Linked DNA regions of Homo sapiens: regions 2, 3, 4, 5, 6 and 7 are each linked to region 1. The links are contacts of gene promoters, found by promoter capture Hi-C in blood cells and fetal thymus (Javierre and others, 2016). All regions are on one chromosome and are shown on one strand. The core of a region is centred on a gene start or on the middle of the fragment in contact, and the rest is flanking DNA. Distances in the headings are between cores, read along the strand shown.

Region 1 (3,916 bases), core at 475-2,974:
GGGGCTGTGAATTCCTAATGTCCTTTTGAGACATGTAGATCTTCCAGAGCGATGCTGCCCAATGCAGTAGCCACTAGCCAAGTGCAAATGGTCACTTGCAATATGGCTAGTCTTTGAGATGTGTTTTAAGTGTAAAATACACACTGAATTTTAAAGACTTAGCGCAATACAAAGAATGTAAAATATCTCATTATATCTTGAAATTATACTATTTTGGATATATGGTGTTCCCTTGGTGTCTTTGGGGACTGGTTCCAGGATCCTAGAGGATACCCAAATCCCCAGATGTCAAGTCCGCTATATAAAATGTCCTGTAGTATTTGCATATAACCTACACACATCCTTCTGAATACTTTAAATCATCTCTAGATTCCTTGTAATTCCTAATACAATGTAAATGTTATGTAAATAGTTGTTATACTATATTAAAAAGTTTTTTATTCTTTATTTTTGCTGTATTATTCTTTTTGCATATTTTCAGTCCACAGATGGTTGATGCCACAGATGTGGAACCTGTGAATAAGGAGGGCTGACTGTATTGAGTTAAGCGAAATATATTATTAATATTTCATCTATTTCTTTTTACTTCTAAAAGATGTGGCGACAAGAAAATTTAAAATTACAAATGTGGCCCACATTATATTTCTATTGGGCAGTGCTGCTCTAGAGAGTCGGCAAAAAGGGCAGAATGGAGCCTCCATTATACAGATCACAAAACTGAGCACAGGTAATTCACTCCAAAGGTCGGGGCTGGTCTCACTCTGAGCTGCGGGTTTTCTTTTCCCACGCCAGAGCTGCCTGGTGCCAGGACGAGCGTAACACGGACCCACAGTGTCCCCAGAAGGGGGCAGGCGTTCTGAGAGCCACAAAGGTGGGGTGGAATCCCTTGATGTCGACCGCCACCATCCCCCTCCCCCCGCGCGACCTCCCCGCAGAGACCTCCCCAGACAAAACAAACAAACCCTTGGGTCTGGCGAACTGCAGCGGGGAGCGGAAACCAAGGAAGATCAAAGACTCAGCGGTTACCCCCTTCCGGGCCGCGCAGTTTGGCAGCGCGCCCCGACCCGGGCGGGCACCCACGGGCCCCCGGACGAGGAGATCCCAGAGACTGGCTGATAACGGGGCGCTTTGGACATTTGTCGCTGCCTGGAGAGGGCTGGGCTCACACTGGCCCGGGGTGCGCTGGGGGCTCCTCCTGGACTCCCCAAATAAGAAACTAGAGGAGTGCGGTGGTGGGGGGCGGGTCACGGGGCGGGTAATGAACACTTTCTGCAGAAGGTAGGTCGTGGGAAGACTGGGAAAAGGCAGCGCTGCCGAAGCTTGCACCTGAGCAGCTAAGGTCTCCGCTCCCGACCTCAGTTTCCCCACCTGTAAATTGGAGCCGCCGAGTCCCGCCCTGCCCGTTTAGAGAGAACGTGGAGCGGAGGGAAGTGACAGTACAGTTAGCGATGGCCGGGCTGTTCTGTCCCAATACGCCTCCTGGACAAGCCGCCCCGCCGGGTCGCCAGCCCTGGAGCTCGGCCCCCGGCCCCAGACCGCGGCAGGGAGCGCGGACTGTGTCCCGCCCCTCCCGTCAGCGCCCCGCCCTCGTCCCCGCCCTGCCCCGCCTCCGGCCCCGCCCCCGCCGCAACCAGCCTTGCCTTTGATGCGCCGCACCGGCCAATGGGCGCGCGGGGAGGCGCGGGCCGCGGCGGCGGGCTGGGGGCTCGGCGCTCCCGGGCGTCAGTCGGGCCGCGGCGACGGCGGCAGGAGCGCGTCCCGGCGCCGCCTCGGGCTCCGCTCGGCTCGGGGGCTGCTTCGGGAGGAGGAGAGCCAAGGGAGGCGCCAGGCCCGCGGGCCGGGCGCATGGCTTAGGGACGCTCCCGGCCGCCGCAGCCCCAGCATGGGGAAACTTCACTCCAAGCCGGGTCAGTGCCCCCGCCCGCGCGCTCGCCCCGGGCCCCGCCGCCGTCGCCGCCGCGGTCGCTAACTCTCTCCCTTCCTTTCTTTCCTTCTCCCGCCGCCGCGGCTGCCGCCGCCGCCGCCGCCTCGCGATGTGCCTGCAGCCGCCGTGTGCAAGCGCAGGGAGAGCCCGGAAGGTAGGGGCGCGCGGGGCGCAGACCTCGGGGATGGACGCGGGGGACACCGCGGCCGCGGCAGAACGGCCCAGCCCGCCAGGTCTTATGACCAGGGCCACCCCGAAGCCCCAGTTCCGGCCACCGGCCCCCCAAGCCCGCTCCCTGAGCAGCCTTCGCGCCCCCTCCTCTGTCCCTCCTACCCGCTCCCCGCGGTCCTGCGCTCCCACCGCTGACCCTCAACCCCTCCCCCTCCCGCGTCCCTGCCCTCGGCTCTCACGGCACCCTCTCTTCAGACCCCCAAGCGCCTCCCCGCAAGACCCTGCCCCCTCTTCCTGCCCCCCGGCCCTTCTTCCGATATCCTGGCTCCTGCACCTACTGCGGCCCCTCTCCTGACCCCCAGCCCTCTCCTCCGCAGTCCTGGCTGCCAGTGCTCCCTGGTCTGATCCTAAACCCGTCCTCCTGGGGTACTGCTCACCCCTCTTGCCCCCTTCTGGCTCCTCGCTCCTAGGGCTTCGCTGAACCCCCCTTTACTTACCCGCGTCCCTCTCTTGGCTCCTGCCCCAGCCCGCGAACCCCCTCCTGGCCCCCGTGCCGTGGTCCTTCGCCTCCCACCGCGCCTCCTTCTTCCCTCCGCGGGGGTAACTTTTGGCACCTGGAGCCAGACTCAGGGGCTTCATGTCGTCCCCGTCCCAGGTGACAGCTTCGCCGTGAGCGCTGCCTGGGCTCGGAAGGGCATCGAGGAGTGGATCGGGAGACAGCGCTGCCCGGGCGGTGTCTCGGGACCCCGACAGCTGCGGTTGGCGGGCACCATAGGCCGAAGCACCCGGGTATGATTCCCCACCCCTGCCCCACCTCCTGGCCTCCTTTCAGCCTCAGAGATGGGTCCCCAAACCCATGCACCCCAACTTTGAGCACTTTCCTGCACAGCTTCTGGGTCTGAAAATCTCTTCTCAGCTGCCCCCTGCCCCACCAACGCGACCCTCTGCCCGCATGCCTTGGAGAACCTCGAAGTGCCCAGCTGGAGGCAGAGGGCTGCCTGGGGGAAAGGTCCTAGGTGGGGAGGTGGTGAAGGTCCAGTTGATGGGGAATCGTGTCTGTACCGGCGGGATTTGGGGGCCTGCTCTGACTTCTACCTTGTTTCTGCCACCAGCATTCAAAGGTGGAGGTGGAGTAGGGGCTAGAGAGAAGGGGGTATTAGGGGTGTCTGGGTGGAAGGCAGAGCTGTGCTGGCCCCAGGATCTGAATATGTTCTGATTGTCTGTGGCATTCATCAGTACCACCTGTACAGGAACCCCAGTAGAGCAGGCGGCCCTCTGGGTAGCAGATCTAGGGGGACTGAGACCTGGAAGACCCCTTACTTGGCATATGAGATAGAGGGCCTCATTCCACTGTAGCCTGGGCAGAGCCCTGAGCCTTCACCCCGTGTGTCTCTGAGGCTGGAGTTCCTGGAGGAGCACTAAGTGTGATGGGAATGAGTGAGTCCAGCCCCAGCTCCTGGCCTGGGACTTGGCGTTCACAGATGTCCTGTGAGCTCCGGAACTCTGCACGGGGCTTTCAGGCAGTCTGCGTGGAACTCGCGCAAGCCTAGGATCAAAGGATGAATCAACTTTTTGATGTGACATTTAATTTTTTTTTTTTTTTTTAACTTAGAGGGGGAATAGACTGAGTCTCAGGTCTGGTTAGTTCTTTGGTCTTATCCATGGGCTGGGGAGAGGCCAGTGGAGACTTCAGATGTGTTTGTATTTGGGTGGTGGGACCTGGCAGCTCGCTTGCAGTGCTGGTGTCGGGAGGTGGACCTGTGGATAAAGTCAGTTCCTGTGTGTGGATGAAATAACCTCTGGGCCTAGGAGAAGCTCCCC
Region 2 (3,916 bases), core at 377-2,876, 500 kb before region 1:
TTCTTTTGCAAGTATAATGTGGCATCAACAGACATGATTCTTTAGAGTTTACCTAACTTTGCATGTTTTATCACATTTGACACAGATTCCCTAAGTAATCAATTGTAAACATTTTATTTATTTATTTGAGATACGTAAAACAAGCCATCTGTTACTTTTTTTTTTTTTTTTTTTTTTTTTAGATAGAGTCTTACTCTGTTGCCCAGGCTGGAGTGCAGTGGCAGGATCTCAGCTCACTGCAACCTCTGCCTCCTGGCATCAAGTGACTCGCCTGCCTCAGCCTCCTAAGTAGCTAGGATTACAGGCGCTCAATACCACACCCGGCTAATTTTTTTGTATTTTTAGTAGAGATGGAGTTTCACCTTGTTGGTCAGGCTAGTCTCAAACTCCTGACCTCAAATGATCCACCCACCTTGGCCTCTCAAAGTGCTGGGATTACAGGTATGAGCCACCACGCCCGGTCACTCCATCAGTTACTTTTAAAAAATCCTTACTTCCAGGCTGGGTGTGGTGGTTCACGCCTGTAATCTCAGCACTTTGGGAGGCCAAGTTGGGAGGATCACTTGAGCCCAGGAGTTCGAGACCAGCCTGAGCAACATGGCAACACCCTGTCTCTACCAAAAATGCAAAAATTAGCCAGGCATGGTGGTGCCCACCTGTAGTTCCAGCTACTCAGGAGGGCTGAGGTGGAAGAATGGTTTCTGTCTGGCAGGTGGAAGCTGCAGTGAGCTGAGATCATGCCTTGCACTCCAGCCTGGGCAACAGAGTCAGACCCTGTCTCAAAAATATTAATTAAAAAGAAAAAATAAATAAAAATTTCTTACCTCCATTGTTACCTGAAAATTTGATAAATCCTGATTTTGATGTAGCATGGAAGATAATGCAAAAACAAAAATACATAATCACTAATATTAATAGTTACTTATTTAAAAACTGAAGTGATATTAGCCCATTGATCAGTTAAAAATAAATAAAACAAGTACAAAAATAGAGTAACCTTTAGAGGAATCAGGGCTTGCCTTGACATAATTAAAACCAGATGGGAATGCAAGCAGCTAAAGCAATATACAAAGAACAAAGTTTGGAGGCATCTATCTGACTTCAAAAGATTCTACGAGGCCATAATAAACGAAACAGCATGATATTGGCATAAAAACAGACACACAGACCAACTGAACAGAATAGAGAATTCAGAAGTAAATCCACATATTTACAGCCAACTGATTTTTTTTTCTGTGTGAATTCCGCCACAAACAGCCAACTGATTTTTGACAAAGGTGACAACAACATACACTGGTGAAAGGACACTCTCAATAAACGGTGCTGGGAAATCTAGATATCCCTATGCAGAAGAATGAATCTAGACCCCTCTCTCACCACGTACAAAAAATCAACTAAAAATGAATTAAAGGCTTAAATGCAAGACCTGAAACTATAAAACTACTAGAAAAAGCATAGGGAAAATGCTTCAGGACATTGGTCTAGGCAAAGATTTTATGCCTAAGACTTCAAAAGCACAGGCAACAAAAACAAAAACAGACAAAAGAGGCTATATTAAACTAAGAAGAAAAGGAAACAATCAACAGAGTAAAGAGACAACCTGTAAAATATGAGAAATTATTTCCAAACCATTCATCCAACAAGGGACTAATATCCAGAATATACAAGGGACTAATATCCAGAATATACAAGGAACTCAAGCAACTCAACAGCAAAAAAACAAATAATCCCATTAAAAAGTGGCAAAGGCTGGGTGTGGTGGCTCACACCTGTAATCCCAGCACTTTGGGAGACTGAGGCAGGCAGATCACAAGGTCAGGAGATTGAGTCCAGCATGGCCAACATGGTGAAACCCCATCTCTATTAAAAACACAAAAAAATTAGCCAGGCGTGGTGGCATGTGCCTTTAGTCCCAGCTACTCTGGAGGCTGAGGCAGGAGAATTGCTTGAACCTGGGAGGTGGAGGTTGCAGTGAGCCAAGATCATGCCACTGCACTCCAGCCTGGGTGACAGAGTGAGACTCCATCTCAAAAAAAAAAAAAAGGAGGGGTAAAGACCACATGAATAGGCACATCTCAAAAGAAGACACACAAATAGCCAACAGGTATATGCAAATATGCTTAACAGCACTAATCATCAGATAAATGTAAATCAAAACCACAATGAACTATCATCTCACTCCAGTTAGAATGGCTATTATCAAAAAGACAATAAATAAATAAATAAATAACAAATGCTGGCAAGGATGTGGAGAAAAGGGAACTCTTATATAATTTTGGTGGGAATGTAAATTAGTACAGCCATTATGGAAAACAGCATGAAGTTTCCTCAAAAAACTGAAAATAGAACTACTGTATAATCCAGCAATTTCACCACTGTGTATTTATCCAAAGGAAAGGAAATCAGCATATCAAAGGTATACCTGCTCCAGCCATGTTTATTGCAGGACTATTCACAATAGCCAAGTTACAGAATCAACCTAAGTATTCATCAACCAATGAGTGGATAAAGAAAATGTGGTATATATACACAGTGGAATACTATTCAGCCACAAAAAAGAATAAAATCCTATCACAGCAACGTGGATGGAATTGGAGGTCATTATTTTAAGTGAGATAAGCCAGGCACACAAAGACAAATATTGCATGTTCTCATTCACATGTGGAAGCTAAAAAAGTTGCTCTCATGGAAGTGGAGAGTAGAATGATGGTTACCAGGGGCTGGAAGGAAGTAGGGGAGGGAGCTTGGTTAATGGGTGCAAACACATAGTCAGATAGAAAAAACAAGCTCTAGTGTCCAGTATCACAATAGGGTAACTGTAATTAACAACAATTTATCGTACATTTCAAAATAGCTACAAGGAGAATATTGAACGTTCCCAATGCAAAGAAATAATAAATGTTTGAGATGATGAACATGCTAATTACCATGCTCTGAGCACTATACATTATATGTATTGAAACATCCCTATGTACCCCATGAATATACACAATTATTTCTTGTCAATATAAAAAATCAAAATTTAAAACAAAACAAATAAAAATTGCTAGAAGAGATTTCAAATATTCCCAACACAAAGAAATGATGAATGTTTGAGGTGATGGATATGCTAATTACCCCGATTTGATTATTACATTGTACGGATTATATGTATCAAAGTATCACATGTACCCCATAAATATGCACAATTATTATGTATCAATTTTTTTAAAAACTACATGGGAATGTACTAGCTCTTCAGCAGAGACTAGAAGTTCCTAGACGGAGAGTGGGGTCATTGATTGCTGAGCAAAGGAAACAAGAAACTACAAATAGAAAGGAAATGCTGCCCACCTGGGAGCAAAGAAAAGAAACTGCAATATTAAGTGAGTTTACCTGGAAAATGATAATTTTTAATTTAATTAATTAATTAATTTTTTGAGACAGGGTTTCATTCTTGTTGCCCAGGCTGGAGTGAAATGGCTCGATCTTGGCTCACTGCAACCTCTGCCTCCCAGGTTCAAGCGATCCTCCTGCCTCAGCCTCCCAAGTAGCTGGAATTACAGGTGCCCACCACCACACCCGGCTAATTTTTTAAAATATATTTTTAGTAGAGATGGGGTTTCACCATGCTGGCCAGGCTGGTCTGGAACTCCTGACCTCAAGTGACCCACCTGCCTCAGCCTCCCAAAGTGCTACGATTACAGGCGTGAGCCACCGTGCCTGGCAGAAAATCATAATTTTTTTAAAGTGGAAAATTTTATAAGAATACTACAAATGTTGGCTGGGTGCAGTGGCTTATGCCTGTAATCCCAGCACTTTGGGAGGCCGAGGCGGGTGGATCACAAGGTCAGGAGTTCGAGACCAGCCTGGTCAATATTGTGAAACCCTGTCTCTACAAAAAAATCAAAAACTTAGCCAGGTGTGGTGGTGCACA
Region 3 (3,916 bases), core at 940-3,439, 460 kb before region 1:
TGAATTAGCAATTTGCTTTTTTTTTTTTTAAGAATATGCTTAGAAGTTACAGTTAAATTGTTGCACAAAGAAGCCACTGGGGCTGGACATGGTGCTCATGCCTGTAATCTCAACACTTTTGGGAGGCTGAGGTGGGAGGATTACTTGAGGTCAGGATTTCAAGACCAGCTTGGGCAATATACTGAGACCCCATCTCTCAAAAAAAAAAAAAAAAGCAGGTAAATTTTTTTTCTTTTTCTTTTTCTTTTTTTCTTTTTTTTTGAGATGGAGTCTCACTCTGTTGCACAGTGGTACAATCTCGGCTCACTGCAACCTCTGCCTCCTGGGTTCAAGGGATTCTCCTGCCTTGGCCTCCCAAGTAGCTGGGATTACAGGCATGCACCGCCATGCCTGGCTAAGACCTTGTCTCTACAAAAATTAAAAAAATTAGCCAGGCATGGTGGCATGCACCTGTAGCCCTAGCTACTCAGAGGCTGCGGCAAGAGGATTGCTTGAGTCCAGGAATTTGAGGCTGCAGTGAGCTATGAACGTGCCACTGCACTCCAGCCTAGGCAACAGAGTGAGACTCTGTCTCTAAGGGGGAAAAAAAAAGACAATTGAAAACTGAAGTTTGGAAATATTCAAATAGTAAAATATACATTATTTTTAGCTCATGTACTGTTTTGGAATATCAGTATGGTTATTTCACTTTCCATAGACAATTTGATAATTAAGGTTATATAAATTTATATTACCCATTTTAAGAAATGTTGGTTGATAATGTTAAGTTTAAGTTGGCGTTATATATTTTCAGAGAAAAAAAAAGCTTCCTTCTTTCTTTAGTCTTAGAGAAATGCTTTATTATAGTCTTTACAGAAAGGCAGGAAGCAAGTCTGTCTGCTCCATAGCAAGTTCTACAGGTCACATAAGGGCTCGTTAGTAGTGTGTGTTAGCGCAGCCATTCCAAGAAAGACATCTAAGCTAAGCATCTAAAAGCAGGTTTGGTGTTTCTAAGTGCCTGGTGTCTGAAATGAACTCTTGTTTAAATCTTAGTATGCCCAGCTACTTCTTGACACAGTAGATAAGTTTCAGGGTGAATTCTGTTCAGAATTCCTGAATATTTGTCTGTTCTCTCCAGCTAACTAAGTGACGCTTGGGGAATAGCCATGCAGATAGATGGAAACCCAGTTAACGGGGGCATGCTCCACTGTACCAAGAGGAATTATAATGCTCGTTTGTACTTCTGGCACTTCATGACTTTTCTTTTACCTACCCCATTCCCCGTGTGCTCTATTCCAAGCGCAAAAATCTTCTAGTAGGCTTTCACTAAGGAAATTCCCCAAAAACATTTTCCCAACCATTGAGAGTTGGTCATTTACTTTTTTTTTTTTTTTTAAGCCCACTGACAAGGAACTGAGAGAGACTATAGCATTGCTGACAGCCCAACAGACTGCTCTGGAAATTATTGTCAACATGTGCTGCAATGAAGGTTTGTTAACATTTACATTTAGACATTTTCCCCCTGAGCCAAGAGGGAAACTCCCGTGGAGATTTTCTTAACTATTCCAGTTCTGCGTGGTTTGCCCGCTTCCCAGATCCCTCTGATGACGAATGGGAAGAGCTTTCTAGCAGTGATGAAAGTGACGCATTTATGGAGAATTCCTTCAGTGAGTGCGGGGGACAGCTGTTTTCTCCCCTCTGCCTCTCCCATGAAGTTCACACGGCTCTCACCAACTACCTCATCCCAAAGAAGGTAATCCATTTTCATTCTAGGCTTACCGTGGAGCATGGGAAAGGCTTAAGCAAGGTATTCATTTTGTGTACAAAAGAAGCAAGCTCACACTTCCAGGTTGTAGATGGTGGTAAGATCTGAGACAAAGCTGAGCCTAACAGTACTGGAAATAGGCGAAAAGGTCATTCTATATGAAGCCTAACCATTTCACTTAGGAGTAATATGTTGGAATTATGTAAGGGAATCGTGTTAAATGACTACTCTTTAACCTTTGCTTTACTGCCTCTTTTAAATCTAGATTTTTGAGAAAACTGCCTTTCCAAACAGCATTGCAGTTGACCTATGTTCTAGGAACCCTACTTGGAAACCTTTGATTAGAAAGTAAGAACTCTTCTGCTTTCAAAAACATTTGTCATTATTTTATTTTATGAAATGATGGGCTATTAAATAGAAGGTGCTGACTCCCCCTAGGACCCAGAAGTTTTGTTCCTGGGTATATATACCAGAAAAATATGTGCCCACATGCCCTAGAATACATGTATATGAGAGTGTTCATAGCAGTGTGTGTCACAGTTGCCCCAACCCATAAACAAACGTGTTGTCCATCAGAGTTAGAATGGTAAATAAATTTTGACAAAATCACGCAGTACAATACATGCAGCAGTAAAAGGGATCTGAATTAGAGCTACTCACAACTCGGATGGAACTTACATTGTTGAACCAAAAAAGCGAGACATAAAAGAATACACACACTGTGATTCAGTTTTTACAAAGTTGAGAAACAGGCAACATTGAACTATTTTGTTCAGGGATGCATACCTTGGTGATAAACCTATTAAAAAAAAAAAGAGGCAAGGAAATGTTTACCATAGAAGTCTGTATGGTGCTTACCTGTAGGTGTCAGGGAGGTGGGATATTATATGGAAGAGATACAGGGGCTTTCAGGGTCCAGCAGTGTTAATTTCTTTCCCAGGTGCATGGGTTTTGGTTTCATAGACTGTTTGTTAAACTCTCTATGTATGTTGTGTACTTAACTGTATATATGTCACATTTCACAATTAAAAATAATTTTAGGCTGGGCATGGTGGCTCACACCTATAATCCCAGGACTCTGGGAGGCCAAGGTAGGAGGATCACTTGAGGCCAGGAGTTTGAAACCAGCCTGGGCAGCATAGCAAGACCCCATCTCTACAAAGGAAAAAAAAATACAAAAATTAGCCTGGCATAGTGGCACTCAGCTGTAGTCCTAGCTACTTAGGAGGCTGAAGTGGGAGGATTGCTTGAGCTCAGCAGTCTAAGGCTGTAGTGAGCTATGATGGTGACACTGTACTCCAGCCTGGGAAACAGAATGAGACCCTGTCTGAAGAAAATTATAATTTTAAGGATGCTACCCTACATAGAAATTTTTCTAAAACATATTCCTCATGACTCATGAATGAGTTGTGTATCAGAGGCCGTGAATATTCAAGCAGTTTGATTTGGCAGATTAACAGTTCACCTTATAATTCTAGCACTTTGGAAGGTACAGGCAGGAGGATTGTTTGAGGCCAAGAGTTCCAGAGCAGCCTGGGCAACATAGCAAGACCCCTATCTACAAAAAATAAAAAACTTAGCCAGGTGTGGTTGCATGCACATGTAATCCTGCTCCTTAGGAGGCTGAGGCAGGAGGATCACTTGTGCTCAGGAGGTTGAGGCTACAGCGAGCTGTGATCACACCACTGCACTCCAGCCTGGGCAACAGAGTAAGACCCTGTCTAAAAAATGATGATAAATTTTAGAAAACACAAAAAACAGTTCACCTTGTGATTCTTTGCTAACTGCCATAGATACCTTGTATTTACAGATATTTCCAGTCAGAACGTGAAGCTTAGGCTAAAAGTTAATACTGAATTCTGATGGGCAACTTCTGGAGAATCAGATGGCATTGTTTCACTTCCTTTCCAGAATGAACACTATTCAGTGCAGAGCCCTCTTCTGTCTCCAGAGTCTTGTGTCCCTCCTGGATGTGGAGCACCTGGGAGGAGCCGCAGCCCTTCAGACGCTTGCACAGCATCTGTCACAGCTGCTTTTTTCTCAACCAGGTATTTAGACTTTATTGCGAAAGACTACGCAGACGGAACAGAATTTTGAAGGGGCAGGAATTTGGATTTTGTAAATGTATATTGTTTGTCATCCAATGTGCAGAAACCTTTCCCAGACACAGGA
Region 4 (3,916 bases), core at 709-3,208, 440 kb before region 1:
TGCTTGAAGTTACCACCAAAGATCCTTCCCTTGTGGTAGCAGGAGAAGCTTTGGATGCCCTCTTTGATGTTTTTGCAGATGGTAAAGAAGCCGAAAGAGCCTCGATTCAAATTAAATTATTATCTGCTCTGAAAGAATTCCAGCCGGTCTTTAAAATGAAGGTTTGTAGCCATTTAACTTATAAATACATAAGTCTGAACATTCTGTGGGGACAAGGGTGTGTGTAGTTACCGCTGTGCAACTCAGAAGCATGTGCATGACGAATCCCCATATGTAGCACAGCATCCCCAGTACTTTGTAAAATGTTCGTTGACTGAGTCATAGCTCAACAGTGTGACTACTGAATCATTGAAACTGAAGCTAAAATGGTATCTGACAAGTTCTTCTTTTTTTAAGTTTAGTAATTTTGACAATGCTTCATATATGTCAGTATTATACTCTGTATTTTGCAAAGCACTTTCATACACATTTTGCATTTATTTAATTTTACTTTTTTTTGTTTTTTTGAGACAGAATCTCACTCTGTCGCCCATGCTGGAGTGCAGTGGTGCGATCTTGGCTCACTGCGACCTCCCCTTCCCCAGTTCAAGTGATTCTTGTGCCTCAGCCTCCCAAGTAGCTGGGATTACAGGTGTCCACCACATCACCCAAATAATTTTTGTATTTTTAGTAGAAACGGGGATTCGCCTTGTCATCCAGGCTGGTCTCGAACTCCCAACCTCAGGTGATCTGCCCACCTTGGCCTCCCAAAGTGCTGGGATTACAGGTGTGAGCCACTGTGCCCAGCCATATTGTTCTTAAAGGTTACAGTCCTTTAAATTTCTGGATAAAGAGCTTGCAAGATAAGAAAAAAATATCCCCTATTTCCCTGCAGCTTCAAGGAAAGCAGATATATTAATAGTTAGAGTCATCAAACTCTGCAGAAGCAGGTGCTTAAAAAAGGTTAAACAGTGAACTGGGAAAATAACCCCTGACTTCTGAAAGGTCTTTGTTCTGATTGATTTTCCTACTCAGTATGTATTGCTGTGGTAATAACATTTGTTTTTCTTTTATCAAAGGTATAAAGCTCTAATGAGATTTCTTCCTAGCCAGAGGCTAGCCTGTAGTTATTTATGTGAAACTCTTTTTTTTGCTAAATGAAGCCACAATTTGTGTTAAAGGCTATTCAGTGTATATTTAGCTGCAAAATGCATTTATGTACAATCAAGAACTTCTCTTGAGCAGTGTTTCTCAAAAGTGCCCTCCTTGTATCAGCAGCATCAGCCCTTGCCTGATAACTTATTCAAAATGCAGGTCCTCGGCCCCAACTCCTGACCTACTGAGTCATAGACTCTGTGGATGGGCCCACCAGTCTATTTTTCAACAAGCCTTCCAGATGATACCGTTGCACACTAAAACCTGAGAGCCACTGCTCTAGACTAGAGGTGAGATCAAACTCAGATTCCATACAATTGATATAAAAAACCACAGGCCAGGCGCAGTGGCTCACACCTGTAATCCCAGCACTTTGGGAGCCCCAGGTGGGAGGATCACTCGAGTCCAGGATTTCAAGACCAGCCTGGGAAACATAGCAAGAACTTGTCTCTACAAAAAAATTTTTTTAAGTTAGCCATTAAGTGGTGGCTCATGCCTGTCATCCCAGCTACTCAGGAAGCTGAGCAGGAGGATCGTGTGAGTGCAGGAGTTGGAGGCTACAGTGAGCTCAGTGGATTGCAGCACTGCACTCCAGCCTAGGCGATGAAGCAAGACCCATCTCTATTAAAAACAAAAAACAAGCAAACAAACAAAACCAGCGCTGGGCATGGTGGCTCACACCAGTAATCCCAGCACTATGGAAGGCCAAGGTGGTAGGATCACTTGAGCCCACGAGTTCAAGACCAGCCTGGGCAACATAGTGAGACCCCACCTCTACTAAAAATTTAAAAAAATTACTCCAGCATGGTAGTGCGCTGCTTGTAGTCCTAGCTACTGTGGTGGCAGAGGCAGGAGGATCACTTGCGTCCGGGAGGTCGAGGCTGCAGTGACCCATGACTGCAGCACGGCTCTCTGGCCTGGGCGACAGAGAGAGACCCTGTTCCAAAAACAAAAAAACCACAACACTACAGACTAACCTCTGGCTAACAAAGGAATTTTTTTTTTAAGGTGGGGTCTCACTGTGTTGCCCAGGCTAGTCTTGAACTCCTGGACTCAAGCAAACCTCCTGCCTCGGCCTCCCAAACTGCTGGGATTACAGGCATGAGTATGCACCCAGCCTAACAAAGGAATTTCATTAAGGCTTTATACCTTTGAGAGAAGAAAAACAATTAAGTATTATTACCATAGCAATGCATACTAACTAGGAAAATCAATCTGAACAGCAGACCTTTCAGAGGTTAGGGGTTATTTTCCCAATTCATGGTTTACATAATTCCTTTCTATAGTTTATATAACTCCTACCACCTGCCATTCAGTCACCTTTGTAACTATCATTTTTAATAATGCACATTCTCAGTTTATTCTTTACTTACCGAGTTCCATTTACCTTGGAAGTAAAAACATTTTTTCCAAATTCTTACAGCTATCTGCTTCAGCAAATGGTTAAATACACCCTAAATTAAATACTTTATTTAAATGAATTAATCATATCTACCAAGTCATATATGATTTTTTGTTTTTTGTTTGCAGATACGTAAAGAAGGGAGAGGTAACTATAGCACAGATCAGCTGTGTGTTCTTGACAATGTGAAAATGAATTTGCGAAGATTTATTGCTTATCAAGAAACTGTTGAGAAAAGACTGACTTCTTAAACAATCCAAAAAAGAAACCAGTTCTTCCCCCAAAGTATTCAATGCTTAGAATACTAAAAGGTTTTCTTTGAATGTATATGTTTCTGAAAGTCATTTTTTAATGATTACATTCTGTACATTCTGTAAAAACTTCAAAACCTGGCCAGGCATGGTGGCTCACGCCTATAATCCCAGCACCTTGGGAGACCGAGGCGGGTGGATCACTTGAGGTCAGGAGTTTGAGGCCAGCCTGGCCAACATGGTGAAACCGCATGCATAAGCATGGTGGCACATGCCTGTGATCCCAGCTACTCGGGAGGCTGAGGGAGGAGAGTCGGTTGAACCTGGGAGACAGAGGTTGCAGTGAGCTGAGATCACGCTACTGCACTCCAGCCTGGGTGACAGAGGGAGACCCTGTCTCCAAAAAAAAAAAAAAAAAAAAACTTCAAAACCTGTCAGAAACTCTGTTGCTGGTTTTTTTGTGTGTGTGTTTTGTTTGTTTGTTTTGTTTTGTTGTTTTTTTCTTTTTTGAGATGGAGTCTCACTGCTGCCCAGGCTGTATTACAGTGCTGCGATCTTGGCTTACTGCAACCTCTGCCATTCCAGGTTCAAGCGATTCTCATGCCTCAGCCTCCTGAGTAGCTGGAATTACAGGCACCCACCACCACACCTTGTTTTTGTTTTTGGTTTTTTGGTTTGTTTTTTTTTTTCAGTAGAGACGGGTTTCACCGTGTTGGCCAGGCTGGTCTCAAATTCCTGACCTCAAGTGATCCGCCTGCCCTGGCCTCCCAAAGTGCTGGGATTACAGGCATGAGCCACCGTGCCTGGCCAGAAACTCTTTTTTAAGTGATGAGATCTGTGTGGCATTTCTAGCGCTCTCTAAATTATGTCTCTGGCATATTTTAATCACTGGAAACTCAAAGAGTGGAAGAGTGGAAGTGCGAAGGAATCTCAGGTAGCTCTTAACTAATTCGCCAGCAGTGAAGAAACTTCAACCAATCATGTTTTCCTTGAATTTTGCAAAGAAAGAAAATCCAAAGCATTGCTTGGATGTTCTTTTAAGGCATTTTATATCAGTTGAACCTTAAACTGAAATATGAAGACAAGCTTTATAAACTAGTTTTTTGATATGAAGTATATCAATTATGTT
Region 5 (3,916 bases), core at 921-3,420, 430 kb before region 1:
AAAAGGAGTGATGGGAGGGATGTGTGATTTTTGTTCTTTGAAATGTGTTGAGATAGGGGCTGGGTGTGGTGGCTCACATCTGTAACCCCACCACTTTGGGAGGCCAAGGTAGGTGGACCACCTGAGCCCAGGAGTACAAGACCCACCTGGGCAACATGGTGAAACAAAAAAATAACCAAAGAAATTAACCAGGTGTGGTGGCGTGTGCCTGTATTCTCAGTTACCCGGGAGGCTGAGGAGGGAGAATTGCTTTAGGCCAGGAGGCAGAGGCTGCAGTGAGCCAAAATCACACCACTGCACTCCAACCTGGGTGACAGAAAGAGACCCATCTAAGAAAGAAAGAAAGATAGAAAGGAAGGAAGGAAGGAAGGAAGGAAGGAAGGAAATATGTTGAGAAAGAAAGAAAAAGAAAGAAAGAAAGAAAGAAAGAAAGAAAGAAAGAAAGAAAGAAAAAGAAAGAAAGAAAAAGAAAGAAAGAAAAAGGAAAGGGAAGGAAGGAAGGAAAGAAGGAAGGAAATATGTTGAGATAGATCCTTCCTGATCATTCTTCTTTCCTCCTTCTCATCACTTGGGAATCTGAGGATGTGGCACCAGGATTCTCTGCTCCAGGAACACCAATTTCCCCACTTGAGTTACCCATCCTTTGTGTCTCTTCTCCAGGAGCTCGCACTCCAACCAATTAAGAAAAGATTTGGCTACAATGACACATTGGCTGGAAGACACACCCACAAACCCATGGACCACCGGACTGTGAGTAACAGTCCTTACTTATGCCTCCTTGCACCCCAGTGTTAAATATTGGTAGAATGAATAAATGAATGAATGAATGAAAGGCAAAGACAGCTATTTAGTCAAGTACCCAGATATTTCTTGAAAAGGATGTTATTGTGGCCAAGAGGCTGTGTGCCACCTTATTTATTTATGTATGTCACCCAGACTGGAATGCAGTGGTGCAATAATAGCTCACTGCAGCCTCTAACTCCTGGCCTCAAGTGATCCTTCCAGCTTGACCTCCCAAAGCTCTGGGATTACCAGGTGTGAGCTTTGCCTGGCCTAAGCATAACTTTTGATCTTCATAGGATCCAAAGTCATGAACTTGTAGCCACGTTGACAACTTGTCCGGCTTGAACAGATTGAATAATCAAGCAGACGTAGCCATAGTGTCACCTGTGAGAAACTGCAATATTTTATAGCTGCTTTGTTTGTTTTTTTGAGATGGAGTTTCACTATGTTGCCCAGGGTGGTCTTGAACTTCCTGGACTCAAGCAATCCTCTCGCCTCAGCCTCCTGAGTGGCTGGAACTATAGGGACTCACCACTGTGCTAGGCAAAATTGTAATGTCTTACAGACACATACACACACACAAAAAAAACTAATTATGATTTAAAAAGCTAGACAGAGATAATATCTTATAACTCAAGGTTTTTCAGCCATCAACACATAGATGTTGATTAATCATTCAACATTAATTATGGTTGTGTTTTTCAGGTCCTGTTTTAGAACTTTGAACAGGTCAATAATCTTGTATTGCTGTGGTCACAGTCCCTTGCTAATTACTGAAGGTAAATAAGATGTGATCACAAGAAACAGTCCACTCACTGTGTCTCACATATTCTCTATAGCCCTAAGAGAAATGACTTCCATTATATTTTAAGTTGGTTATATTGGCTAGTTTCTTTCTTTTTTCTTTTTTTTTTTGGAGATGGAGTCTTGCTCTGTCGCCCAGGCTGGAGTGCAGTAGCACGATCTTGGCTCACTGCAACCTCCTCCTCCCAGGTTCAAGCAATTCTCCAGCCTCAGCCTCCTGAGTAGCTGAGATTATAGGTGCCCACCACCACACCTGGCTAACTTTTGTATTTTTAGTAGAGACAGGGTTTCACCATGTTGTCCAGGCTGGTCTCGTTCTCCTGACCTCAAGTGATCCATCTGCCTTGGCCTCCCAAAGTGCTGGGGTTACAGGTGTGAGTCATCGCACCCAGCTATATTGGCTAGTTTCAAAACAGATCAGGGGCTATCCATTTGAAACCGTCCCACTAACATGATATGACAAGGTTTGTAAGTGATAAGCTTGGCAGCTTCGATTTCTGGCACAAGGTGTGTGGCCTCCCAGAGCTCTAGCCTGTCCTCTCTGACTCAGTTTTTCTTGCTCTGTAATGGGTTCTGTCCATTTGTCAGCCTGCAGATTTTCAGCTGGATTTTTTTTTCATGTCAGCCAAATAAATACAGAAATTGCTCCCCCCACCCTGATTATAATCATTTTGGCCACATTTTTCAAAGCTTACTCTTAGACCATCCCAAAACTCCAGGGTAACTCCATATTATTATTCAAATTTTTTCTCAAATTAAATGTCTGTTAGGCTGGTTACACAATCACAATAAGGGAAAAGCTTGGCCCTTTCATTTTGCATTTTACCTCAGAGAAGGTCCTTGTGGCTTGACTTTGCACATTACTGGAAACAGAATTTGCCTTTCTGCTCCTTTGTGAGGTAGTCAAAGCACGATGTGCATGTGGTTCCAAACACATTTAATTCTGTAGCTATTCTTTTGTTGAAGGCGCTCACCACAAAACATCCTGGAGGGGGATTACGGGGCAGGTGCAACAGACAAGGGTGTTTCCCGGATGGGGAAGGCAGAGCGCCAAGTAAAGGAGTAAGTGCTGAAGAAGGGATTTTACTTGAAATTGGAAGTCATAGGAGCTATTTGGTTTTGGGGGTGCATGTTTAAGTGATACATTTATAGATTAAAAACGAAATTCAGGCCATGTGCTGTGGCTCACACCTGTAATCCAGTACCTGCAGAGCCCCTCCTGCCTTGGCCTCCCCCAGAAAAACAAAGAATTTCAGAGTCAATAGCACGTTATGTTTTGACTACATCACAAAGAAGCAGAAAAGGGCCAGGCACCGTGTCTCACGCCTGTAGTCCCAGCACTTTAGGAGGCTGAGGCAGGCCGATCTTTTGCGTTCAGGAGCTCAAGACCAGCCTGGCCAACGTGGTGAAACCTCGTCTCTACTGAAAATACAAAAAAATTAATCGGGCATGGTGGCATGCACCTGTAGTCCCAGATACTTAGGATGCTGAGACAGGAGGATAGTTCGAACCCAAGAGACAGAGGTTGCAGTGGGTTGAGGTTGTGCCACTGTACTCCAGCCTGGGTGACAGAGTGAGTCTCCATCTCAAAAAAAACCCCCAAAACAAACAAATGACAACAACAAAAGCAGCAGAAAGGTAAATTCTTATTTTCCTCTTTTAAAAAAATTTCCTTTGTTTTAGGAATTCTTTTTCCAGACATGTGTCAAGCCAAGCCATGAGGGCCTTTTCCAAGGTAAAATGCAAAACAAGCGGGCCAAGCTTTTCCCTTATTTTTCCCTCCTTGCCTAGGAGTTTGAGACCAGCCTGGGCAACAGAGCAAGACCTCGTCCCTACAAAAAAATGAAAAAAAAGAAAACAAAAACAAAAACAAGTGGCTGGGTGCAGTGGCTCATGCCTGTAATCCCAGCACTTTGGGAAGCCGAGGTGGGCAGATCACGAGGTCAGGAGATCGAGACCATCCTGGCTAACACGGTGAAACCCCATCTCTACTAAAAATACAAAAACAATTAGCCAGGCATGGTGGCAGGCGCCTGTAGTCCCAGCTACTTGGGAGGCTGAGGCAGGAGAATGGCGTGAACCCAGGAGGTGGAGCTTGCAGTGAGCCGAGATGGTGCCACTGCACTCCAGCCTGGGCGAAAGAGCGAGACTCCGTCTCAAAAAAACAACAAAAAAAAGTAGCTGGATGTGGTGGTGCTTGCCTGTAGTCCCAGCTACTCAAGAGGCTGAGGTGGGAGGATTGCCTGGGTCCAGGAATTGGAGGCTGCTGTGAGCCATGATCACACCATTGCAGATCCAGCCTGGGTGACAGAGCGAGACCCTGTCTCAA
Region 6 (3,916 bases), core at 847-3,346, 410 kb before region 1:
AGGCTAAGGTGGGAGAATCATTTGAGCCCAGGAGTTTGAGACTGCAGTGAGCCATTTAATCCCAGCAGTTTGGGAGGCTGAGGTGGGCAGATCATGAGGTCAAGAGTTTGAGACCAGCCTGGCCAACATGGTGAAACTCCGTCTCCACCAAGAATACAAAAATTAGCCAGGCGTGGTGGTGGGCACCTGTAATCCCAGCTACTGCACTCCAGCCTGGGCAACAGAGTGAGACTCTGTCTCAAAAGCAAAAACAAAAACAAAACAAAACACACACACACAAAGATAGATTTTTAGGAGTACTGGGGTTATTCTTCAACAGGTCCAGGTATCCCCTTCATTCAAGTGGTCCTGGGTCAGTAAAGTGGCTGATGTCCAGCAATTCACTGAGGGGTTATGAATCAATTTTTATGATACATGTTAAACTTTTGTTCATCTGACCTAGAAATTTTCTGCATATACAGATCAAGTAAGAAAATATTTCACTTCTAGGAACACCCTGATAAACTTGCCAATGCCAAAGGTCTTCATGAGTCAGACTATTCTGATTGCTGCCTTGATTCTGCTGTTCATCATGGCAACCACACCCCCCTTGCCTCTGTTGGTTGAGTCCCAAAACTTGGAACCTGCCACTCTGGGCAGGGGTGGGATCCAATGACTCCCATTGCATTTAGGCTTCCCGATTCTGTGAGTGCAGTTTCCATCGAAAGGCCAGGCCTACAGAGTAGGGTGATCACAGAGCTCTCCAAGGATGTGCTCCCCTCATGATGTTATGTTTCACGGTACTAGTGAAAGGTGTGTCTTTTGAACCTTCCCAGTGTGGGTGAATAGGCCTTAAATGACAAATTCACTCTAGCATGCCAATCTCCCTAAGCTTCTGAATTCCTTTCCCTACATAAAACCAAGGCAGGTACGGCATTTCCAATTTGCTCACCATGGACCAGGTTTTGGTCCATGTTTTCCATGTTTGAGCCAACCAACTGAAGTGTTAGAGCTTTTTCTTTTCTTTCCTTTTTTTTTCCCCCAAGACAGAGTCTTGCTCTGTCACCCAGACTGGAGTGCAGTGGCTCGATCTCAGCTCACTGCAACCTCTGCCTCCTGAGTTCAAGCAGTTCTCCTGCCTCAGCCTCCCGAGTAGCTGGGATTACAGGTGCCCGCCACCACATCTGGCTAATTTTTGTATTCTTGGTAGAGACAGGGTTTCACCATGTTGGCCAGACTGGTCTCGAACTCTTGACCTCATGATCTGCCCTCCTCAGCCTCCCAAACTGCTGGGATTACAGGCGTGAGCCACCTTGCCTGGCCTTTTTGTTTGTTTGTTTGTTTTTTGACAGGGTCTCACTCTATCAGCCAGGCCAGAGTATGGCTCACTGCAGCCTCGACCTCCCAGGCTCAAATGGTCCTCCTACCTCAGCCTCCTGAGTAGCTTGGACTACAGGAACACACCATCATGCCTGGCTGGCTTTTTTTTTGAGATGGAGTCTCACTCTGTCACCCAGGCTGGAGTGCAATGGCACGATCTTGGCTCACTGCAACCTCTACCTCCCGGGTTCAAGTGATTCTCCCACTTCAGTCTCCTGAGTAGCTGGGACTACAGGTGCATATCAGCATGCCCAGCTAATTTTCATATTTTTAGTACAGATGGGGTTTCACTATATTGGCCAGAGTGGTCTCAAACTCGTGACCTCAAGTGATCTGCCCACCTCAGCCTCCCAAAGTGCTGGGGTTACAGGCATGAGCAACTGTGCCCAGCAAGTAATTTATAAATTACACTTTACCATAGGTATGTGTATATAGAAAAAAGCATAGTATATGTAGGGTTCGGTACTAACCACAGTTTCAGTCTTCCACTGGGGGTCTTGGAACATATTCCCTTAGGCTAAGAGGGGACTACTCTACTTGAGTTTTCTAATTTATATGGACAGAAATGGGAGAGCATGTGTGAGAATGGATACTAAGGGTATGCGATGATGGTGGAAAGAACATAAGGTTGGGTCAGGCTAAATTAATTGATTTGGGCCCACTAAGCAGAGATTCTGCCTTTAATTCTTCAGTTTAGGGAGTTAGAAAGGCTCTACGACAGGTGTGGTGGCTCAAGCCTGTAATCCCAGGATGCTGGGAGGCTGAGAAGACAGGATCCCTTGAGCCCAGGACTTTGAGACCAGCCTGGGCAACATAGCAAGACCTTGACTGCACTAAAAAAAAAAAAAAATTAGGCCAGGCATGGTGGCTTGAGCCTGTAATCCCAGCACTTTGGGAGGCCAAGGCAGGCAGATCACCTGAGGTCGGGAGTTTGAGACCAGCTGGTGCAACATGGCAAAACTCTGTCTCTCCTAAAAAAAAAAAAAAAAAAAAAAAAAAATTAGCCAGGCGTGGTGGTGTGTGCCTGTAGTCCCAGCTACTCAGGAGGCTGAGACAGGAGAATCACTTGAACCCAGGAGGTGGAGGTTGCAGTGAGCTAAGATTGTGCCACTGCACTCCAGCCGGGTGACAGAGTGACACTCTGTCTCAAAAACAAACAAACAAACAAACAAAAATTAGGCACCGGAAGAGATTAACAATAACTAATAATAAAATAGAACAATTATAACAACATGCTGTAATGAAAGTTGTCAGTCACTGTAGTCTAACTTGCAATTTGAGGTGTGACAGCAAAACTAGCATGAATTTCATTACTTTTTCCTTCTTCACAGTTTCACAGATAAAAGATTTGTTCTTACTATAGATCTTAGCAACCTCAACATATGAGTTTTTTTCTTTCCTTATTAAGTTGAGCACTTTCACCTCCTTACTTAGAAGAAGTACTTGACAGCTTTTCTTTGGCATATCTGAATTGCCAGCATCACTACTCTTACTTTGGGGCTACTATTGAGTGAAATAAAAGCCACTTGCACACAAACACTGTGATACCATGACAGTCAATCTGATAACTGAGACAGCTACTAAGTGAAAATGAGTGAATAGCATACACAGTGCAGGTATGCTGGACAGAGGGATGATTCGCACCCTGGGTGGGATGGTGTAAGTTTTTTTTTTAATTTATTGTGTTATTTTATTTATATTCTTTATTTCTTTTAAACAACCCTAAGTCCATTTAGCAATGACACGATATTTTATCACACTACTCAGAACAACACGCAATTGAAATTATGAGTTGGTTGGGCATAGTGATTCATGCCTATAATTCCAGCGTTTTGGAAGGCCAAGGTGGGAGGCACCATTGAGGCTAAGAGTTCAAGACCAACGTGGACAACACAGTGAGACCACCATCTCTACAAAAACAAAACAAAACAAAACAAAACGATACAAAACAAAAAAATTGGCCAAGCTTGGTGGTGCACACCCGTAGTCCCAGCTAACTTGGGAGGCAAGATGGGAAGATGGATTGAGCCCAGGAGTTCAAGGCTGCAGTGAGCTATGATCACACCACTGTACTCAAGCCTGAGTGGAGAGCAAGACCCTATCTGTCTCAATAACAAAAGAAAACAAAACAAAACAAAAACAGAAAAAAAAGTATGAGTTGCTTACTTCTGGAATTTTCCACTTAATACTTTTGAATCATGGTTGACTGTGGGTAACTGAAACTGTGGAAAGCAAAGCCATGGATTGGGGGGACTGCTGTAGTTCTTTTGGAGCATCGCATCCCTCCTCTTGGGTCACACTTTGTACTTCGCCTTAGGGACCTACTGGTACTTGGGTCTAGTTACAGGTCTAGAAGCAAAGGGGGTTGTTGAGGTGGTCCCGTAACAGAATCAGCATAGTCTTGCCTGTCAACTGCCTCAGTGGAGGCCTTTACAGTTTCCTCAGGCAATGCAGAGTTAATTCCCTGAGATGGGGCTGGGAGAGTGATGGGGAGACCCATACCACTGGGGTAGGGAGGCCTCTTCCACTGGCAATGGAGATACATCAGACTTTCGGG
Region 7 (3,916 bases), core at 400-2,899, 390 kb before region 1:
CCCGTCTTGGCCTCCCAAAGGACTGGGATTACAGGCATGAGCCACCGTGCCCGGCCTCATTATCCTGATTTCTTTTTTTTCTTTTGAGACTGGGTCTCACTCTGCTGCCTAGGCTGGAGTGGAGTGACGTGATCATAGCTCACTGTATCCTCTAACTCTTGGGCTCAAGTGATCCTCCTGCCTTAGCTTCCTGGAGTAGCTGGGACTACAGGCACATGTCACCACACCTGCCTAATTTTTTTATTTTTACTTTTTGTAGAGATGGGGCCTCCATTTGTTGCCTAGGCTGGTCTTCAACCGGCCTCAAGCAGTCCTCCCACCTTGGCCTCACAGAGTGCTGGGATTATAGGCATGAGCCACCATTCTCGCCAGTATCCTTATTTCTTAACTTTAGAAAGTTTTTCTATTTTTAATATAGGTATTTAAAAAAATCTGAATTCAGAGTGCACCTCGATGTTATGCTGTTCTGAGATTAAATATACTAAAACTGTTACCATTGTTTTCTGAATTCTTAAGATGTGACTGATAGTTAGCTAATAGGTTAACACATTGTGGTGGTTCTTGGCCTCTGAACTGATAGTCCAGATGGGGAGAGGAGACCAGAAAGCATGTGAAAATGGACTAGAACCATGGGACAGCTATATAGTCTCTCGCAGCTGTCTTTTGTGTTCTCTGCTTCCACCAAATTGGTTGATTTATTTAGAATGCTGACCTCTTGCATTGCCTAAGTCCTTGATGTTTTTGGTTTCTCCTCTGAACTCTCAAAGGTACTCACTTCATGCTCTTGGTATAGCCCACTTATGTTTAACTTTCCTTTTATTATGTGTTCCCTCTTACACATGACATGGACATTTCTTTAATATGTAGAGTAAGATATTGGATTTCATCCTAAAGTCTTCAAAATAAAACTCTTGAGCTCATCATCTCAGACTTCTTCATGTACCCACAGACCAGGGATTTTGTTTGCTTTTTAAAACATTTTTTTATTTTGTGTTTTATTATTTTTAAATTTTAATTTAATTTTATGGAGACAGGGTCTCGCTCTGTTGCCCAGGCTGGAGTGCAGTGGTGTGATCTCGGCTCACTGCAGCCTTTGCCTGGGCTCAAGCCATCCACATGCCTTGGCCTCCCAGTGTGCTGGGATTACAGGTGTGAGCCACTGTGCCTGGCCTAAATTTATTTTTTTAATTTTTTTTGAGACAGGGTCTTGCTCTGTCGCTCAGGCTGGAGTGCAGTGTCATAATCATGGGTCACAGCAGCCTTGGCCTCCCAGGCTGAAGTGAACTTCCCACCTCAGCCTCCTGAGTAGTTGGGACTACAGGCGAGTGCCACCATGCCTGGCTCATTTTGGTTTTTTTTGTAAAGATGGGGTCTTGTCATGTTGCCCATGAAGGTCTCCAACTCCTGGTCCAAGTGATCCTCCCGCCTCCGCCTAGCAAAATGTTGGGATTACAGGTGTGAGCCACCATGCCTGGCCTTATTTATTTATTTAATTATGAATGAATGAATGAATTAATGAGAGGGAGTCTTGCTCTCTTGCCCAGGCTGGAGTGTGGTGGCACAATCTTGGCCCACTGCAACCTCCGTCTCCCAGGTTCGAGCAATTCTCCTGCCTCAGCCTCCCGAGTAACTGGGATTACAGGCGCCCGCCACCATGCCCAGGTAATTTTTGTATTTTTAGTAGAGATGGGGTCTCACCATGTTGGCCAGACTGGTTTCGAACTTCTGACCTCAAGTGATCTGCCCACCTTGGCTTCCCAAAGTGTCAGGATTACAGGCATGAGCCACCATGCCTGGCCTGGCCTTTTATGTTTTAAGTTGCTTCCACTGATTCTCTTGGGCTTTGCTCCCCTCCAGAACTGGCCATGGTTTAGGATGCTGTCCACCTGCTGCTGCTTGTCCATGAAAACGAGCCATAAACCCTTTTCTTTTGAAAGACTTAATTGTTTATCACTATGGAGAAAGAGGGGATGGCAAGAAGTAGCAAATACAGGGAATTTGCAGAACTTGGTCTTGAGCCCTGGGTCCAGAAACTTCTTCTGGAAGGTGCTTGGTGTTTGTCCAAGCTCATGATAGGTTTCTGTTGGCTGTACTGCCAGATCTGTAGATGCTTTTTTAAGGCTTGGATGACTTGTTCAAAACAATGTTTTGGAGTACAAATTTGGCTGTGGGGACATCAAGACCTTGTTGGGAAACTTGGGTTTAAGGTACAATTTCTTAAACTAGGATGGTGGGAATGGGGATGTGAAGGGAGAATGAATGTGAGAGGTATTACAGGGTAAGGATGGAGATGATTCAGATTCCTTAAGTGGATTTAATAATCACACTGTAGCTTTGAACTTGAGTGACTGGGGAAATATTTGTGGTGTTTTTGGAAATAAGGGCCAGAAGGACTATTGGTTTGGGTAAGAAGATAGTAGGGGGATGTATAGGTGGACCTGCTAGTGGGGAGCTGAGATTTGGAGGGCTGAGATGTAGTGCTCTTCACTGCCGTAGGGCAGTATCCTCTTGTATGTGCCATCCTCTAGTGCCCATTGTTCATCATGTCATAGTAAGCCCAAGATGTTCATGCCTTTTTTCAGCACTGCATTAGGGCTTATATCTGCTTCTCTTTCTCTCTCTCTCTCGCTCTCGCTCCCTCCCTCTCTCTCTCTTTCTGTTTTTTTTTTTTTTTTAGACGGAGTTTCACTTGTGTTGCCCAGGTTGGAGTGCAGTGGCGCGATCTTGGCTCATTGCAACCTCTGACTCCCGGGTTCAAGCAATTCTCCTGCCTCAGCCTCCCAAGTAGCTGGGATTACAGGCATGTGCCACCATGCCTAATTTTGTATCTTTAGTAGAGATGGGGTTTCTCCATGTTGGTCAGGCTGGTGTCAAACTCCCAACATCAGGTGATCTACCTGCCTCGGCCGCCCAAAGTGCTGGGATTACAGGCATGAGCCACCGCGCCCGGCCTCTCTCTGCTTATTTCTACACAGTGTTACCAATGAGATTGGTGTTACTGCTGGGCTCCAAAGCAATCAGACAGATTAAAGTAGATTGAATATGAAAGAATTTAGAGGCCTTTTTCCAAGTGATTTGTGCTCTATTTAATTTCTGTGCATTTGCAGATATAGCCCACAGTAATTCTTAGTGAACTAGAACCTTCAGGTTATTGAATTTTACTGATTTGGGTACTGACATGCGCTTTTAAGAAGACATTAGGTTTTCTATAGTGTAGATTGTACACTAACAATATAATTCATATTTAAGAATGTCTCAAAATTTAGTATACTGTGTTCAACTAACTTAACTTTCTTTGTTTTTTTTGTTTTGTTTTGTTTTTGTTTTTTGAGACGGAGTCTTGCTATGCCACCCAGGCTGGAGTGCAGTGGCGTGATCTTGGCTTACTGCAACTTCAACACTCCTGGGTTCAAGTGATTTTCCTGCCTCAGCCTCCTGAGTAGCTGGGATTACAGGCACCCGCCACCACACCGGCTAATTTTTGTATTTTTAGTAGAGACGGGGTTTCGCCGTGTTGGCCAGGCTGGTCTTGGACTCCTGACTCAAATGATCTGCCTGCCTTGGCCTCCCACAGTGCTAGGATTACAGACATGAGCCACTGCGCCCGGCCGCTAACTTAACTTTCATTCCACAACTTCCATCTTTTATCCAAAATCTGTGATCATTGAATACTGTCACCATTAATCATTGGCATTTCAGTGTTTGGACTTTTTTTTTCCCCCTTCGTCTTTGTGGACTCTTTTTTAACACTCATAAAGTTTTAACTATTGAAAAGCAAAGGAAACGGTGAGTGACTTTTTGGAGTCTGTCTACCCAGTGGTCACACAAAAGGCTTACTACATTACAGGAAAGATAGGATGGGAAAGGGATACTAGAAAATTCTAAGTCAGGAACGGGGGTGTGTATTAGAAAAATT

What was found. Contacts are between HindIII fragments. The CHiCAGO score rates a contact against its expected background, and 5 or more counts as called.
Region 2: a contact is called between a fragment that was not itself captured here and the fragment with the promoter of NKD1 in region 1, in 2 of 17 cell types (total B cells and total CD8 T cells). The highest score is 7.0, in total B cells.
Region 3: a contact is called between a fragment that was not itself captured here and the fragment with the promoter of NKD1 in region 1, in 2 of 17 cell types (naive CD8 T cells and activated CD4 T cells). The highest score is 6.2, in naive CD8 T cells.
Region 4: a contact is called between a fragment that was not itself captured here and the fragment with the promoter of NKD1 in region 1, in 2 of 17 cell types (activated CD4 T cells and naive B cells). The highest score is 6.0, in activated CD4 T cells.
Region 5: a fragment that was not itself captured here is called in contact with the fragment with the promoter of NKD1 in region 1 in 2 of 17 cell types (non-activated CD4 T cells and naive CD8 T cells); the score reaches 7.6 in non-activated CD4 T cells.
Region 6: a fragment that was not itself captured here is called in contact with the fragment with the promoter of NKD1 in region 1 in 1 of 17 cell types (non-activated CD4 T cells); the score reaches 5.3 in non-activated CD4 T cells.
Region 7: a contact is called between a fragment that was not itself captured here and the fragment with the promoter of NKD1 in region 1, in 7 of 17 cell types (non-activated CD4 T cells, naive CD8 T cells, total CD8 T cells and 4 more). The highest score is 12.2, in non-activated CD4 T cells.

Annotation. Positions count from the first base shown.
Region 1 is chr16:50,546,672-50,550,587 of GRCh38, forward strand. NKD1 (NKD inhibitor of Wnt signaling pathway 1) reads left to right here and starts at 1,725. Exons shown (of 10, transcript NM_033119.5): 1 at 1,725-1,907; 2 at 2,046-2,078; 3 at 2,751-2,884. The coding sequence starts at 1,883. RefSeq lists silencers at 1,368-1,817, 1,858-2,047. The HindIII fragment of the contact is 5,196 bases long and covers 1,318-3,916 here.
Region 2 is chr16:50,049,959-50,053,874 of GRCh38, forward strand. All of the region lies in intron 2 of HEATR3-AS1 (HEATR3 antisense RNA 1), which reads right to left. Among named protein-coding and RNA genes, the nearest start is that of HEATR3, 14 kb to the right of the region's middle. The HindIII fragment of the contact is 9,594 bases long and covers 1-3,916 here.
Region 3 is chr16:50,082,560-50,086,475 of GRCh38, forward strand. HEATR3 (HEAT repeat containing 3) reads left to right here. Exons shown (of 15, transcript NM_182922.4): 8 at 1,378-1,468; 9 at 1,575-1,732; 10 at 2,010-2,092; 11 at 3,656-3,792. Among named protein-coding and RNA genes, the nearest start is that of HEATR3-AS1, 18 kb to the left of the region's middle. The HindIII fragment of the contact is 2,772 bases long and covers 804-3,575 here.
Region 4 is chr16:50,102,275-50,106,190 of GRCh38, forward strand. It overlaps HEATR3 (HEAT repeat containing 3), which reads left to right. Exons shown (of 15, transcript NM_182922.4): 14 at 1-161; 15 at 2,665-3,916. The coding sequence ends at 2,787. Among named protein-coding and RNA genes, the nearest start is that of HEATR3-AS1, 38 kb to the left of the region's middle. The HindIII fragment of the contact is 3,825 bases long and covers 47-3,871 here.
Region 5 is chr16:50,119,406-50,123,321 of GRCh38, forward strand. No RefSeq gene overlaps it. Among named protein-coding and RNA genes, the nearest start is that of TENT4B, 32 kb to the right of the region's middle. RefSeq lists silencers at 2,061-2,150, 2,441-2,500 and an enhancer at 3,725-3,916. The HindIII fragment of the contact is 210 bases long and covers 2,066-2,275 here.
Region 6 is chr16:50,136,879-50,140,794 of GRCh38, forward strand. No RefSeq gene overlaps it. Among named protein-coding and RNA genes, the nearest start is that of TENT4B, 14 kb to the right of the region's middle. The HindIII fragment of the contact is 2,454 bases long and covers 870-3,323 here.
Region 7 is chr16:50,156,588-50,160,503 of GRCh38, forward strand. The region is part of intron 1 of TENT4B (terminal nucleotidyltransferase 4B); the gene reads left to right. Among named protein-coding and RNA genes, the nearest start is that of TENT4B, 5.2 kb to the left of the region's middle. The HindIII fragment of the contact is 5,097 bases long and covers 1-3,916 here.